Regions from separate parts of the Homo sapiens genome. Here regions 1, 2 and 3 are each linked to region 4. Evidence: promoter capture Hi-C in human tissues and cell types (Jung and others, 2019). All regions are on one chromosome and are shown on one strand. The core of a region is centred on a gene start or on the middle of the fragment in contact, and the rest is flanking DNA. Distances in the headings are between cores, read along the strand shown.

Evidence for each region. The method cuts DNA at HindIII sites, captures the fragments that hold promoters and counts their contacts. A contact is called where the count stands out against the background at its distance.
Region 1: a fragment that was not itself captured here is called in contact with the fragment with the promoter of NOVA2 in region 4 in 3 of the 25 tissues and cell types used here (adrenal gland, dorsolateral prefrontal cortex and mesenchymal stem cells).
Region 2: a contact is called between a fragment that was not itself captured here and the fragment with the promoter of NOVA2 in region 4, in 2 of the 25 tissues and cell types used here (adrenal gland and bladder).
Region 3: a contact is called between a fragment that was not itself captured here and the fragment with the promoter of NOVA2 in region 4, in 4 of the 25 tissues and cell types used here (mesenchymal stem cells, spleen, stomach and 1 more).

Annotation. Positions count from the first base shown.
Region 1 is chr19:46,170,315-46,173,243 of GRCh38, reverse strand. All of the region lies in intron 4 of LOC105372424 (a long non-coding RNA gene), which reads left to right. It also overlaps a transcript of IGFL2 not described here. Among named protein-coding and RNA genes, the nearest start is that of IGFL2, 24 kb to the right of the region's middle. RefSeq lists an enhancer at 2,062-2,612. The HindIII fragment of the contact is 4,773 bases long and covers 1-2,929 here.
Region 2 is chr19:46,150,842-46,154,204 of GRCh38, reverse strand. The region is part of intron 1 of IGFL2 (IGF like family member 2); the gene reads right to left. Among named protein-coding and RNA genes, the nearest start is that of IGFL2, 4.3 kb to the right of the region's middle. The HindIII fragment of the contact is 4,323 bases long and covers 1-3,363 here.
Region 3 is chr19:46,129,795-46,132,704 of GRCh38, reverse strand. It overlaps a transcript of IGFL2 not described here. Among named protein-coding and RNA genes, the nearest start is that of IGFL3, 6.6 kb to the right of the region's middle. The HindIII fragment of the contact is 6,419 bases long and covers 1-2,910 here.
Region 4 is chr19:45,972,306-45,975,571 of GRCh38, reverse strand. It overlaps NOVA2 (NOVA alternative splicing regulator 2), which reads left to right and starts at 1,707. Exons shown (of 4, transcript NM_002516.4): 1 at 1,707-2,305. The coding sequence starts at 2,221. RefSeq lists a silencer at 1,382-1,541. The HindIII fragment of the contact is 35,305 bases long and covers 1-3,266 here.

The DNA of each region.
Region 1 (2,929 bases), core at 131-2,630, 200 kb before region 4:
TCCCACTTCAGAAGGAACAGTGGTGTTGGGGACACGTTGACAACAGAAAGTCTAGCACAGTCCACCCCATTCAAAAATAAGCATCTGTAGACATTTTCAACTTCCAAATAAAAGCAGCAACAATACTATTTTCCACCTAATGTGATGCAACTATTCATTTTACAACCCAAAGACCTTTAATCTTCTCTATGGAAGAGATATTTGAAAATGCTAGTCCGTCTCCCAGATGACTAACAACCCCTTTTGCTCTTTCATGCTATAAATACCAAGGATCAACCAATATAAACCTATATTACATAGAGGGGTATGAAGGCACTGAGACAAAAAGCAGAGGACTCAGTTAATACAGAAACTATATTCACATCAGCTGGGCATGGTGGCACATGTCTGTAGAGCTACTCAGAGGGCTGAGGTGGTAGGATTGCATGAACCTGGAAAGTGAAGGTTACAGTGAGCCAAGATCGCACCACTGCACTCCAGTCTACATGACAGAGCGAGACCTTGTCTGAAAAAAAATATATATATATACACATCAAAGTGAGGAAGATTATATAAATATCTAACTTAGTCCTTGTTTCAGCAGCTGGCCTTGAGGCTAAAGCTGGCATTTAAAAATTTCCTCTTTCAAGTTAGACACAGTGGCACATGCCTGTAATCCCAGCTACTCAGGTGGCTGAGGTGGGAGGCTCATTTGAGTTCCGGAGTTCAAGACCAGCCTGGGGAACGTAACAGAACTCCACCTGAAAAAAAATTTCTTCCACTATCCATTCCATAATCCCTATGCTCTCAGCAAACACCTCAACTGGCTGTGATTTTTTAACCTGGTGAAGTTACTCACGTCTTCATGAAGTATACATTCCCTCAGGAGTCCTTCCTGTAATGGATTATTATCATTTTCCCATGTTTTACAATGGGACGTGGGAGTTCTAAGAGGCATCCCACAGAATGCCTTGTGTGAGTGGTATAGTTATACTCTCTTCTGCCGATTGTGTAGTAACTACCCAATTCCCCCCTTGATAATCAGGACAATTTGCCACTTTTTACTATCAGGCTTTACACGATTTCTTCTACCTTAGACTATATAACCATTCAGTTACATCCAGGTTAATGGCTTCCACTTCCAAAGTCCGTATCTCTGGAGTCAACAGCAAGAACACTTCCTGCCAAGGACTACTCCAGATTTTTGCATGCTTAATCCAAAGCAAAAATAAGACCTTTTGAATTAGGGATGTTTCTATCATTAATCTTCATCACACATAATTTTTTTTTTGCAATTCAGATTCCTGGTGAAAGTTCTTCAGAGCTTCAAATTCCTTTTGGTGTAACAATATATTATTTGCACCAATTTTACCTGTACGGCACCCACTTTTCATTCTTATAAAACTTATCACTTGGTAAAAAAAATTCTCACTTTTCCTGAATGTCCTTTTGGTTCCTTGTAATATCCTCCATCTAGGCCATTCAACAGGGTGAGCTTCATACTGATGGGGAGTTCAAGAAGGGAGTTATCAAAAGATAAAGTAAGTGTACTCGCATTTTCTCCTTGAGAGGTTGGGTAAGTCAACAATAGACTAGACCTATGGAATATGAGAAACAGCAGGCTGTCCCTATAAGACAGGAGACTGCTGAGAGCTATGCTGAGTCCAAGGAAGAGAAGGCAGTTGTAAATTGTACTCAGAGTTAATTTGCCCTGACAGAAAATGGAGATAGAGAAAAATAAGACACAATACTCTGAAATGTGCATCTCCATGTCATTCCATGAATGGTATGGTCTAAGTTTGATTGTTTTATCAGTAGAGATTATCTTCGAACTCATCTGAGTGAGCAAGTCACCACTCTTGCCCAATAGCTTCTTCTCTCTGTCAATCTGAACCCCACCCATAATCTCGTCTTGAATAGCACCTCCCTCTGGCTGACTCCCCTTGACTTAGCTCCTGGCTCTTGACCCAGAAAGTGACTCATTCAGGCTATCACTTATCGGGGGAAGCAGCCCCCGATAATTCAACGTAGGTTCTTTTCTGTTTTCCCTAAGTGTCGGCCAGTCTGAGAAATAAAGCGAAAGAGTACAAAAGAAAGAAATGGTAAAGCTTGGTGTCTGGGGAAGACATCACAGGTCGGCAGGTTCCATGATGCCCCCTGAGCCATAAAACCAGCAAGTTTTTATTAGCAATTTTCAAAGGGGAGGGAGTGTACAAATAGGGTTTTATTAGCAATTTTCAAAGGGGAAGGAGTGTACGAATAGGGTGTGGGTCACAGAGATCACATGCTTCAAGGGCGACAAAAGATCACAAGGGCAGAAGGTCAGGGCGAGATCACAAGGTCAGGGTGAAACTAAAATCACTAATGAAGTTTCATGTCCCGCCGTGCACACATTGTCATTGATAAACATCTTAACAGGGTTCAAGAGCAGAGAACTGGTCTGACTAGAATTCGCCAGGCTGGAATTTCCTAATCCTAGCAAGCCTGGGGGTGCTGCAGGAGGCCAGAGCATGTTTCATCCCTTATCTGCAACTGCATAAGGCAGACACCCCCAGAGTGGCCATTTTAGAGGCCCCCCTGGGAAGGCATTATTTTCCCAGGGCTGTTAATTATTAATATTCCTTACTGGGAAAAGAATTCAGCAATATTTCTCTTACCTGTTTTCCGTAATAAGAGAAATATGGCTCTGTCCTGCCCAGCCCACAGGCAGCCAGACTTTAAGGTTATCTCCCTTGTTCCCTGAAAATCACTGTTATCCTGTTCTTAAGGTGCCCAGATTTCAAACTGTTCAAACACACATGCTTTACGAACAATTTGTGCAGTTAATGCAATCATCACAGGGTCCTGAGGCAGCATACATCCTCAGCTTATGAAGATGATGGGATTAAGAGATTAAAGATAGGCATAGGAAATTATAAGAGTATTGATTGGGGAAGTGATAAATGTCCAT
Region 2 (3,363 bases), core at 805-3,304, 180 kb before region 4:
AACAGAAACATCAGGAAAAAATAGTAAAAAAAGAATGAGTTCCTGTCCTTTGCAGGGACATGGATGAAGCTGGAAACCATCATCCTCAGCAAACTAACACAGGAACAGAAAACCAAACAACACATGTTCTCACTCAGAAGTGAGAGTTGAACTGTGAGAACACATGGACACAGGGAGGGGAACATCACACCCAGGGGCCTGTCAGGGTCTTGGGGGAAAAGGGAAGCAGCACATTAGGACAAATACCTAATGCATGCGGGGCTTAAAACCTAGATGACGGGTTGATAGGTGAAACAAACCACCATGGCACATGTAACAAACCTGCATGTTCAGCACATGAATCCCAGAACTTAAAGTAAAAAAAATATATATATATATATATATATACACATATATAATTTGTAATAAAAAGGCAAAAGCTACCCCAAAAAAAGAACCCAGCTAAAACCATAATTATCTGGAGTAGTTAGCGATCCAGCACTCATGCCCAAGGCTGCACCCTCTGGAGAGCACTAATAAAATAGAATTGTGTAATTATATAAGCAATTATATAACTTGTAACTACTTATTAAAACAGTATAATTGCTTATTTCTTATCCTTTCTTCTCTTAACTGGTCTTAAAAGTAATGGCATAAAACAATATGTACATAATTGTATTGCTGGGAAAAATAAAGAATCTGATTTTAAAAGGGGCAAAAGATCTGAATACCTAGTTCTCAAAAGAAGACATACAAACACTCAAGTATATGAAAAAAGTATATGAAAAAATGTTCAACATTACTTACATTAGGGAAATGCAAATCAAAACCACAATAAGATACCTCATCTCAGTTAAAATGGCTTTTATCAAAAAGACAAGAAATAACAGATGCTGGCAAGGATGCAGAGAAAGGGGAATACCCATACACGGGAAATGCCCATCCAGACCCAGATGGTGAATTTTACAAAACAATTAAAGAAGGCTTAATACCAATCATTCACAAACTTTTCAAAAAAACCAAACACAACTTTCCAGTCTATTCTGAGGCCTGTATTACCCTGATACCGAAACCAGACAAAGACATCACAAGGAAAAAAAACTACAGACCAACATCTCTTATGAATATAAGTTCAAAAATCCTCAACAAAACATAGCAAACCAAATCCAGCAGCATATATAAAGAACGATACGCCATGACCAAGTGGATTTATCCCACGGATGCAAAGTTGGTTCAACATATGAAAATCAATTAATATAATACACCACCTTACTAGACTATAGGAGGGAGACACGTAATTCTCTCAAATGATACTGAAAGAGCATTTGACAAAATCTACACTCTTTCATGATAAAATACAAAGAACAAACTAGGAATAGAAGAGAGTTTCCTCAACCTGTTAAAGAGCATCTACAATAAACTCATAGCTAACATCATACTTAATTGTGAAAGATTGAATACTTTCCCCCTAATATCAGGGACAAGACAAGTATATCCACTCTTACCACTCTATTCAAGATAGCATTGGCGGTTCAAGCCATGAAAGTTAGGCAAGAAGATAAAATGAATTTAGACTGAGAAAGATAAAGTAAAATGATTTCTATTTGCAAATGACATGATTTTGTATGTTAAAAATCCTAAGGACTAGGCACAGTGGCTCACTCCTGTAATCCCAGCATTTTGGGAGACCAAGTGGGGAGGATCACTTGAGGTCAGAAGTTTGAAACCAGCTTGGTCAACATAGCGAGACCCCATCTGTATAAAAATAAAAACATAAAAAAATTAGCCAGGGATGGTGGCACATGCCTGTAGTTCTAGCTGCTCAGGAAGCTGAGGCAGGAGGATTACTTGAGCCCAGGAGTTCGAAGCTGCATTGAGCTATGATCACACCACTGCACGCCACCCTGCATGATAGAGTGAGATTCTGTCTCAAAAAAGAAAAAGAAAAAAAAAAAAAAACCTAAGGAAGCTACTATGACCTAAAGACTAATAGAAAAATTCAACAGGATTGTAAGATAAAAGAGATCAACATATAAAAAGCAATTGTATACACTAGTAAAAAACCATCTAAATATGAAATTAGGAATATAATTCCACGTACCAAAGAGAATAAAATACTTATGAATAAATTGAACAGAAGAGGTGCAAGATTTGTGCATTAAAAACAACAAAACATTGTTGAAAAGAATTAAGAATATGTAAATAAATGGAAATACATCCATGTTCGCAAATTGGAAGACTTAATATTGTTCAGGTGCCAAAAATCCCAAATTGATCTATAGAATCAATGCAATCCATATCAAAGAACTTTTGTGAGATCAAGTGTCACTCTGTCACCCAGGCTGGAGTGCAGTGGCGTGATCATGACTCACTGCAACCTCCGCCTCACAGGCTTAAGTGATCCTCCCACCTCAGCCTCCCAAGTAGCTGGGACTACAGACGCACACCGCATGCCTGGCTAATTTTTTGCATTTTTTGGTAGAGATGTGGTCTCACCATATGGCCCAGGCTGGTCTCTTAACGCCTGAGATCAAGCCATCCACCTTCCTTGGCCTCCAAAAGTGCTGGGATTACAGGCATGAGCCACAGGACCCAGCCTTCTCTGAAGAAATTAATCAGTTGATCCTAAAACTCATATTGAAACATAAAGGACCGAGAATAACTAAAACGATCTTGAAAAAGAACAAAATTGTAGAATTGATACTTCATGATTTCAAAGCTTACCACAAAGCTATAGTGACAGTGTAGGAGCTGACACACAGGATAGACATATAGATCAATGAATAAAACTAACAGTCAGAAAATAAACCCTTAGATTTGTTGAAATCAAATTTCAACAAAAGTGCTAGGACTATGAAGTAAGGGAACAAATGATTTTTCAACAAATGGTGCTGGGAAAACTGTATATTCATACACAAAAGAGTGGGCAGAAAGAGGATCTCTTCCTCATACCATACACAAGGATTAACTCAAAATGTATCACAGACCTAAATACAAGAGCGAACATATAAAACTCTTAGCAGAAATGTAAAATAAGCAACCCACAGAAAGACAAATACCACACCATCTCACTTGTATGTAGAATCTAAAAGAGTTGAACTCATAGAAGTAGAGAGAAGGGCAGTTACCAGAGGATTGGTGTGGGCAGATGGGCAACAGGGAGATAAGCAAATGATATGAAGTTACAGTTAGACAGGAAAGATAGGTTTTAGAGATCCACTGCAGGGCACGGTGACTATAATAAATAATAGTGTATTGTGGGCTGGACGTGATGGCTCATACCTGCAATCCCAGCACTTTGGGAGGCCAAGGAGGAGGGTTGCTTGAGCCTACAAGTTGGAGACCGGCCTGGGCAACACAGTGAGACATCGTCTCTATGAAAAA
Region 3 (2,910 bases), core at 321-2,820, 160 kb before region 4:
CCTTTCTTCTTCTTTCCTCTCCCTCTCCCTCCCTCTCTCCCTCTATCGTTTTCCCTCCCTCTTCCTCTCCTTCTCTCTCCCCTTCTCTGTCATACTGGCCCTCAATCCTGTAACTCTATTCAAAACCCCTCACCACTTCACTTTCTCTTTGCCACACCATGTGAGGAGGGGAAGCCTGTGGACTTTTCTGTCATCTGTCTGTTTGGGTGTGTGAGTCTATCAACTTTGGGTGCTGGCTTTTTAAGGAGAGAACTGACAGCACGTGGAACCAAAGTTTGTGTCACTTATGTCCCAATGAATTGTTTTCTTTCTGTGCATTTAATTCAATATCTTATTTTCCCATGCAACCCACTGGTTGGCCTCTTGTAAAAAGGAGAGACTTTTGCCTATGGTTCCATGAAATGGAAAGGGATCATTTTCTTTTGTAACGTGGCTTGGCCCCCACAGCTATGCCACAGGGAGCAAGGTCACCAAAGTTGCTCAGAAAAAGAGAACCCAAAACCGTAGCATGCCAGCAAAAGGGTAAGAATTTCTTACCAGCCAGGCTTCTGGACTTTCTCTGTGTGTGTGTGAAAACTGGTTAAGTGAATGACAAAATTCACTGTTTCCCTCCTCTGCAAGGCTTTAACCCATTTCCTGTTGGCCAAGAATATTCTTATCTTTAATACTAATGTAAAATCATATACATTTCTGCTACGTTAATACTAGAGACAAGTTCTGTTTAGAAACAACTCCAAGAACAGTTTTGTTTTTGTTGTTGTTGTTTGAGAGGGAGTCTCGCTCTGCTCCCCAGGCTGGAGTGCAGTAGCATAATATTGGCTCACTGCAACCTCCACCTCCTGGGTTCAAGCGACTCTCCCACTTCAGCCTCCCGAGTAGCTGAGACTACAAGCATAGGCCACCATGCCCGGCTAACTTTTGTATTTTTAGTAGAGACAGGGTTTCACCATATTAGCCAGGCTGGTCTTAAACTCCTGGCCTCAAGTGATCTGCCTGCTTCAGCCACCCAAAGTGCTGCGATTACAGGCATGAGCCAAGAAGGGGTTTTTATGTTTTATTTTCACACTGAAAATCAGTCATATTCGCTTCAGCCTCGAAGAGCATGTTTACGTAAAATTAAATGGGTGTTGACAGCAAACTAGACCTAATAAAAAAAGAAGTCGATAAACCTCTGAGACAGAAAGTATTAAAACATTAGAATGCTCATGCTTTCCAAAGCCAAACAATGTTTACAAAAAAATTTCATCTGAATTCCCATTTTTAAATTTTGCTATTTTTTAGGAGGAGGGTTTAGAAAATTACTTGGGAGCTCTTAAAGCTGACTGCACAAATATTGTCGAGTAAAGCTTAATGTAGTGTAATAAGGAGAGAAGTTTTTGTCTATTATTAAAATTTAAAACAAAGCTACTGTAAATGAACCAGACACTACCTAGAAAAATTACACATAAATCAATTGAACAGAGTCCATCAACAGATAAAGCTAATAATGGAAAACTGAGATATAAGAAAAGTAACATTGTACATTAGAAGAAAAGGGATGAAACTAGTCAACAAGTAATTTCAGATTCAATAGGACATTCATTAGCAAGAAAATTAACTTAGACTCAGCATCACATCTTATAGAAAAAGTTATATGTGAATAAAAATGACTAAAAAGAAAGTAAAAATATAGAACTATTCATAGAACTTTAAGTTGGAGATGGCCTCCTTACGTAAGCGGAAGCCAAAAAGTGGAAAGAAGATGTAGGGCAGTGGTAAAAGACACTGCTGCATAAAAATTTAAAATATCTCAAAAAAGAAGACTCCACCAGCATTACTGAGAAACAAACACAAAGGCGAGGAAAACATATAACAGACAAAAGGTTAGTATCTCCCATATAAAAAGAGCATTTATAAATTAATAAGAAGGAAGCAAACAACCCAAAACAATTATTCTGAATAGTGTATCATTTACAGAAAAGGAACTATACATCATTAAACATAAAAATAATGAGAAATACTGGGAACCTTCATCCAAGCTCATAAATTTCTTCTAATCTTAGTTCTTGCTCACTTTATTTTTTAATTTGGAACCTACCAAAGATAATAAATTCCTCTTTTTGCCACAGCTTAAGCTAGTTTAAACTGGCAAGCAACCACTTGCAAGTAACCAGTTTATAAACATAATGAAAAGGTGCTTCCAAGAACCTCAATAAACAGCATGTAGACAAACAAATGCCATATTTTAAATAACATGGTATGTTCTTTAACTCATCATCTGATGCTTGCTGGGGGAACTAAAATATTTATCAAAACTCTAAAGAAGTTATTGCCCTGTGAGATAATGAAAAAGGCTGTTTCATAGGAAACGTGTACTTCACCCACTTAGTTCAGGAGATCATACCCTGTAGTATTTGGTTTAAATAAACAGTGAACCTGAACCCTTGAAACTGCATGCAGTCCATCTCACATGCAATTACACCCACAGGCTCAAAATAAAGGGATGGAGGAAAATCTACCAAGCAAATGGAAAACAGAAAAAAGCAGGAGTTGCAATCCTAATCTCAGATGACTTTAAACCAACAAAGATAAAAAAAGACAAAGAAGGGTATTATGTAATAGTAAAGGGTTCAATTCAACAAGAAGGCCTAACTATCCTAAATACATATGCACCCAACACAAGAGCACCCAGATTCAGAGAGCAAGCTCTTTGAGACCTTCAAAGAGATCTAGACATCCATACAATAATAGTGGGAAACTTCAATACCTCACTGACAGTATTAGACAGATCATCAGGTCAGAAAATTAACAAAGATATTCAGGACCTGAACTCAGCACTGGATCAAATGGGCCTGATAGACATCTGCAGAACTCTCCACACAAAAGCAATAGAATATACATTCTTCTCACCACCACATGGCACACATTGAA
Region 4 (3,266 bases), core at 458-2,957:
TCCTCAGCTCCCTCCAGGAAGATGGAGGGGGAGGATCCAGACTGCAGTGGACCACAGCCCCCTCCCATCCCCCTTGGCTCTGGGGACAATGGGGGGGAGGGGACAGATGGGTAGCCACCCCATCCACCCCAGGCCATCTGCTACCCTCCCCCATCCTGGGGACCTGAGAGCATGGCAAGGGAGGAGCAGGGGGGGGTTGGAGCCGATCCCCCTGCCGCAGATCACGCAGTGGCCACAATTACCTGCATCCAGACCCCTTCTGAGCCTAATCTTGCCTCTGACCAACCCAGGAAGGAAAGATTCCTTGGAGGTTAAGAACCCAGGGAGAAGGAAATTCTTGCATCAAGGAACACAGAATAATAGCAATGATCCATTCCAAAGAAAGGCACCCTAGTTCCAATGACTTTGGGCTCTGAAATTGGACTTGTCCTGCGTTCTCATCCCAGTTTCTCTCTCTCAAGCTGTGTGCCCTTGAAGAAGCCACCCTCAATGTTCCCAGGCCTCCACTTTGTCATCTGAAAACAAATTTTTCTTAATGACATGAGTAGTAATACTGTACAAGGGCCAAGGCTGTTTTGTTCTCTATTGTATCGCAGCATCAGGGACAGTGCCTGGCACTTAGTAGGTAGGCCCTGAGTGCTGTTGTTTGAATGGAGAGCCAGTTGTGCCCCAGGGCAGGTGCTGCAGGCTGCAACTCCAGCTCAGTGAATTCAATCCTCTGAGCCCTTTCAGCATCACGGTGTTGATTCTTCAAAGGATGGATGAAAGATTTGAAGGGGAATTTCCCAGCTGAAAGGATTGAAAAAGAGTGAAGTGAAATTTCTTTCTCTTTCTTTCTTTCTTTTTTTTTTTTTTTTTTGAGACAAGGTTTTGCTCTGTCTCCCAGGCTCGAATCTAGTTGCTTGATCATGGCTGACTGCAGCCTCAAACTCCTGTGCTCAAGAGATCCTCCCACCTCAGACTCCAGAGTACCTGGGGCTACAAGCATGTGCTACCACGCCTGGCTAATTAAAAAAAAAATTTTTTTTTTGTAGAGATGGGGTCTCACAATATTGTTGCCCAGCTCGTCTCAAACTCCTGGGCTCAAGTGATTCTTCCGCCTCGGCCTCCCAAAGTGCTGGGATGACAGGCATGAACCACCGCGCCTAGTCGAAATTTCTTGTCTTGACCAAGTGAAGTCAAAGTAAGCTCCTAAGGCTGTTTCCTCATCTGTAAAATAGGGATAATAAGCGTAACTCACAGAGCTGGTCGCTCTGGGGAGTAAATGCGATAACGTCTGTGACGTGCTTGCTTGGAACCGGACCTGGCACACAGTAAGTGCTCAATAAACGTTCATTCAAGGTGAGGAGTGGGGACGGCTTGGAGGAGCCCGGGGTCCTCCCAGCAGCCTGGGGGAGTCGGGTCCAGCTCTCTGCCGCCGGGAGGGGCGTGGCCAACCCAGAGGGACGTGGTCCAGGCTTCAAGGCTGGACCAATGGGGGCGCCGAAGGGCGTGGCCCTACCCGGCATGGGCGTGACCTCGTTGGGTGGGAGGGGCCAGGCGCTGTGGGAGCCTCCGGGAAGAAGATGCTCGGGCCAGCAGCCACCGCCAGCCCCGTCGCCGCCGCCGCCCGCGCCCGCCGCCCCCCGGGCCCCCACTAGCGGCCGCCTCCGCCTCCCACTCCGGCCACGCTCCTCCGGCCCCCCACCCCGAGCAGGGTCTGGGGGGCTCGGCCCTCTTGCCCCAGGGAGCCAAGAAGAAGCGGGGAGTCCCGTCCCCCCAGTGGCGCGTCCAGTCCCCAGCCTCTGTGGTCCCAGGAGAGACCCCACCTCTCAGTTCTTTCCCGGCCCTATCGGAGACCCCCCTCGGCCCTGCCATCCTGCTCACGGCCGCTCTCCAGGCTCTGTCAGCCCCCCGAGAACCGGCTCCCCCCTACCCCCGCCTTCCCTCTCCGGGGCTCCCCCTCCCCCATCCCTCCACCGCCCCCTCCCCCTCCCACCTCCCCTCCCCTCCCCCTCCCCCGCCCCCCGCCCCCCGCCCCCCCCCACCATGAGGATGATGGCCGCCGGCGCGGTGCACGGCCTCTTCACGGCCTCCGCGGCCCCGCAGCCGCCGCCGCCCCCGCCGCCGCCGCCGCCGCAACCCCAGCCTCCCCAGCAGCCGTCGCCGCCGCCACAGCAGCCGCCGCCGCCGCCGCCGCAGCCGCCGCAGCAGCAGCAGCCGCCGCCCCAGGCCCCCCCCATGGAGCCCGAGGCCCCGGATTCCCGCAAGAGGCCCCTCGAAACGCCCCCCGAGGTGGTCTGCACCAAGCGCAGCAACACGGGAGGTGAGAAAGGGCTGCGGCTCGGGGCGGGGGAGCGGGCAGGGGGCCTCGCCTTTCTCCATCCTTTCCCCCCCTCCCGTGGCAGGTGCAAGGGCTCTGGGGAGGGGAGAGACACCCCTCCCCGAGGCGGGGGACAGAGCGGGGAGTTGAGGAGGGGGCTGGACCCCCTCCTCCTCTCGCTGAGGCCCGGGGCTGGGAGCTTTGTCTGCGAGGAGAGGGGTGGGGGGGAGGGGGTGATAAGTGTCCTTGGGGGGCGCAGAAGATGGGGGGCGTGGGAGCCTCAGGGCAGGTGTCTGTGTGTCCTTGAGGGGTGTGTGATGTGACCCTTTCGGAGCAGGGGTGTTCCCCGAGCTCGCGTGTCCTGGCTGGGGGAGGGGAAGGAGTAGAGGCCTGTGGACCGGGAGCTTCCCAGCCTCCCTCCCTGGGGATGTCCTGAACAAGGGTTGTCCCAGATGGAGGCTTGTGTGGCCCTGGCCGGATCGTGCGTGGGGACAGGCTGGGTAGGTGTGTGGGGTGAAATGGAGGAAATGGTGGGTGTGTAAAGCTAGGTGGGAGAATGTGAGGCTAGGACAGGTGTGTATGTGTGTGCGTGTGTGTGTATGTGTGCCCTCTACAGCCTGGATGTGTGACATTAGGGATCAGGAATATGACAGCATAGGGGGGTGTATGAGAAAGACAGGGGACAGGGGCTGGGCTCCATGTTTGAGACCCTCCAGCGGGTACGTGTGACAAGGAAAGGTGTGTGCTTGTCACCCCCAAGGGGGCTGTGGCAGAGTGTGACACATGAGAGGGTGTGTGTGACATGCAAGGAGGTGTGTGGGGGACACCGAATGGGCTGGCTCTGGGTGTCAGCCAGAAGAGGCCGTGTAGATCAGAGGAAAGGGGTCCAGTGTGTGTGACACAGGCGTGGCTGGTGAGGGGATGTGACAAGAAAAGGGTGTGGGTGTGACTCCAGAGAGGCTGT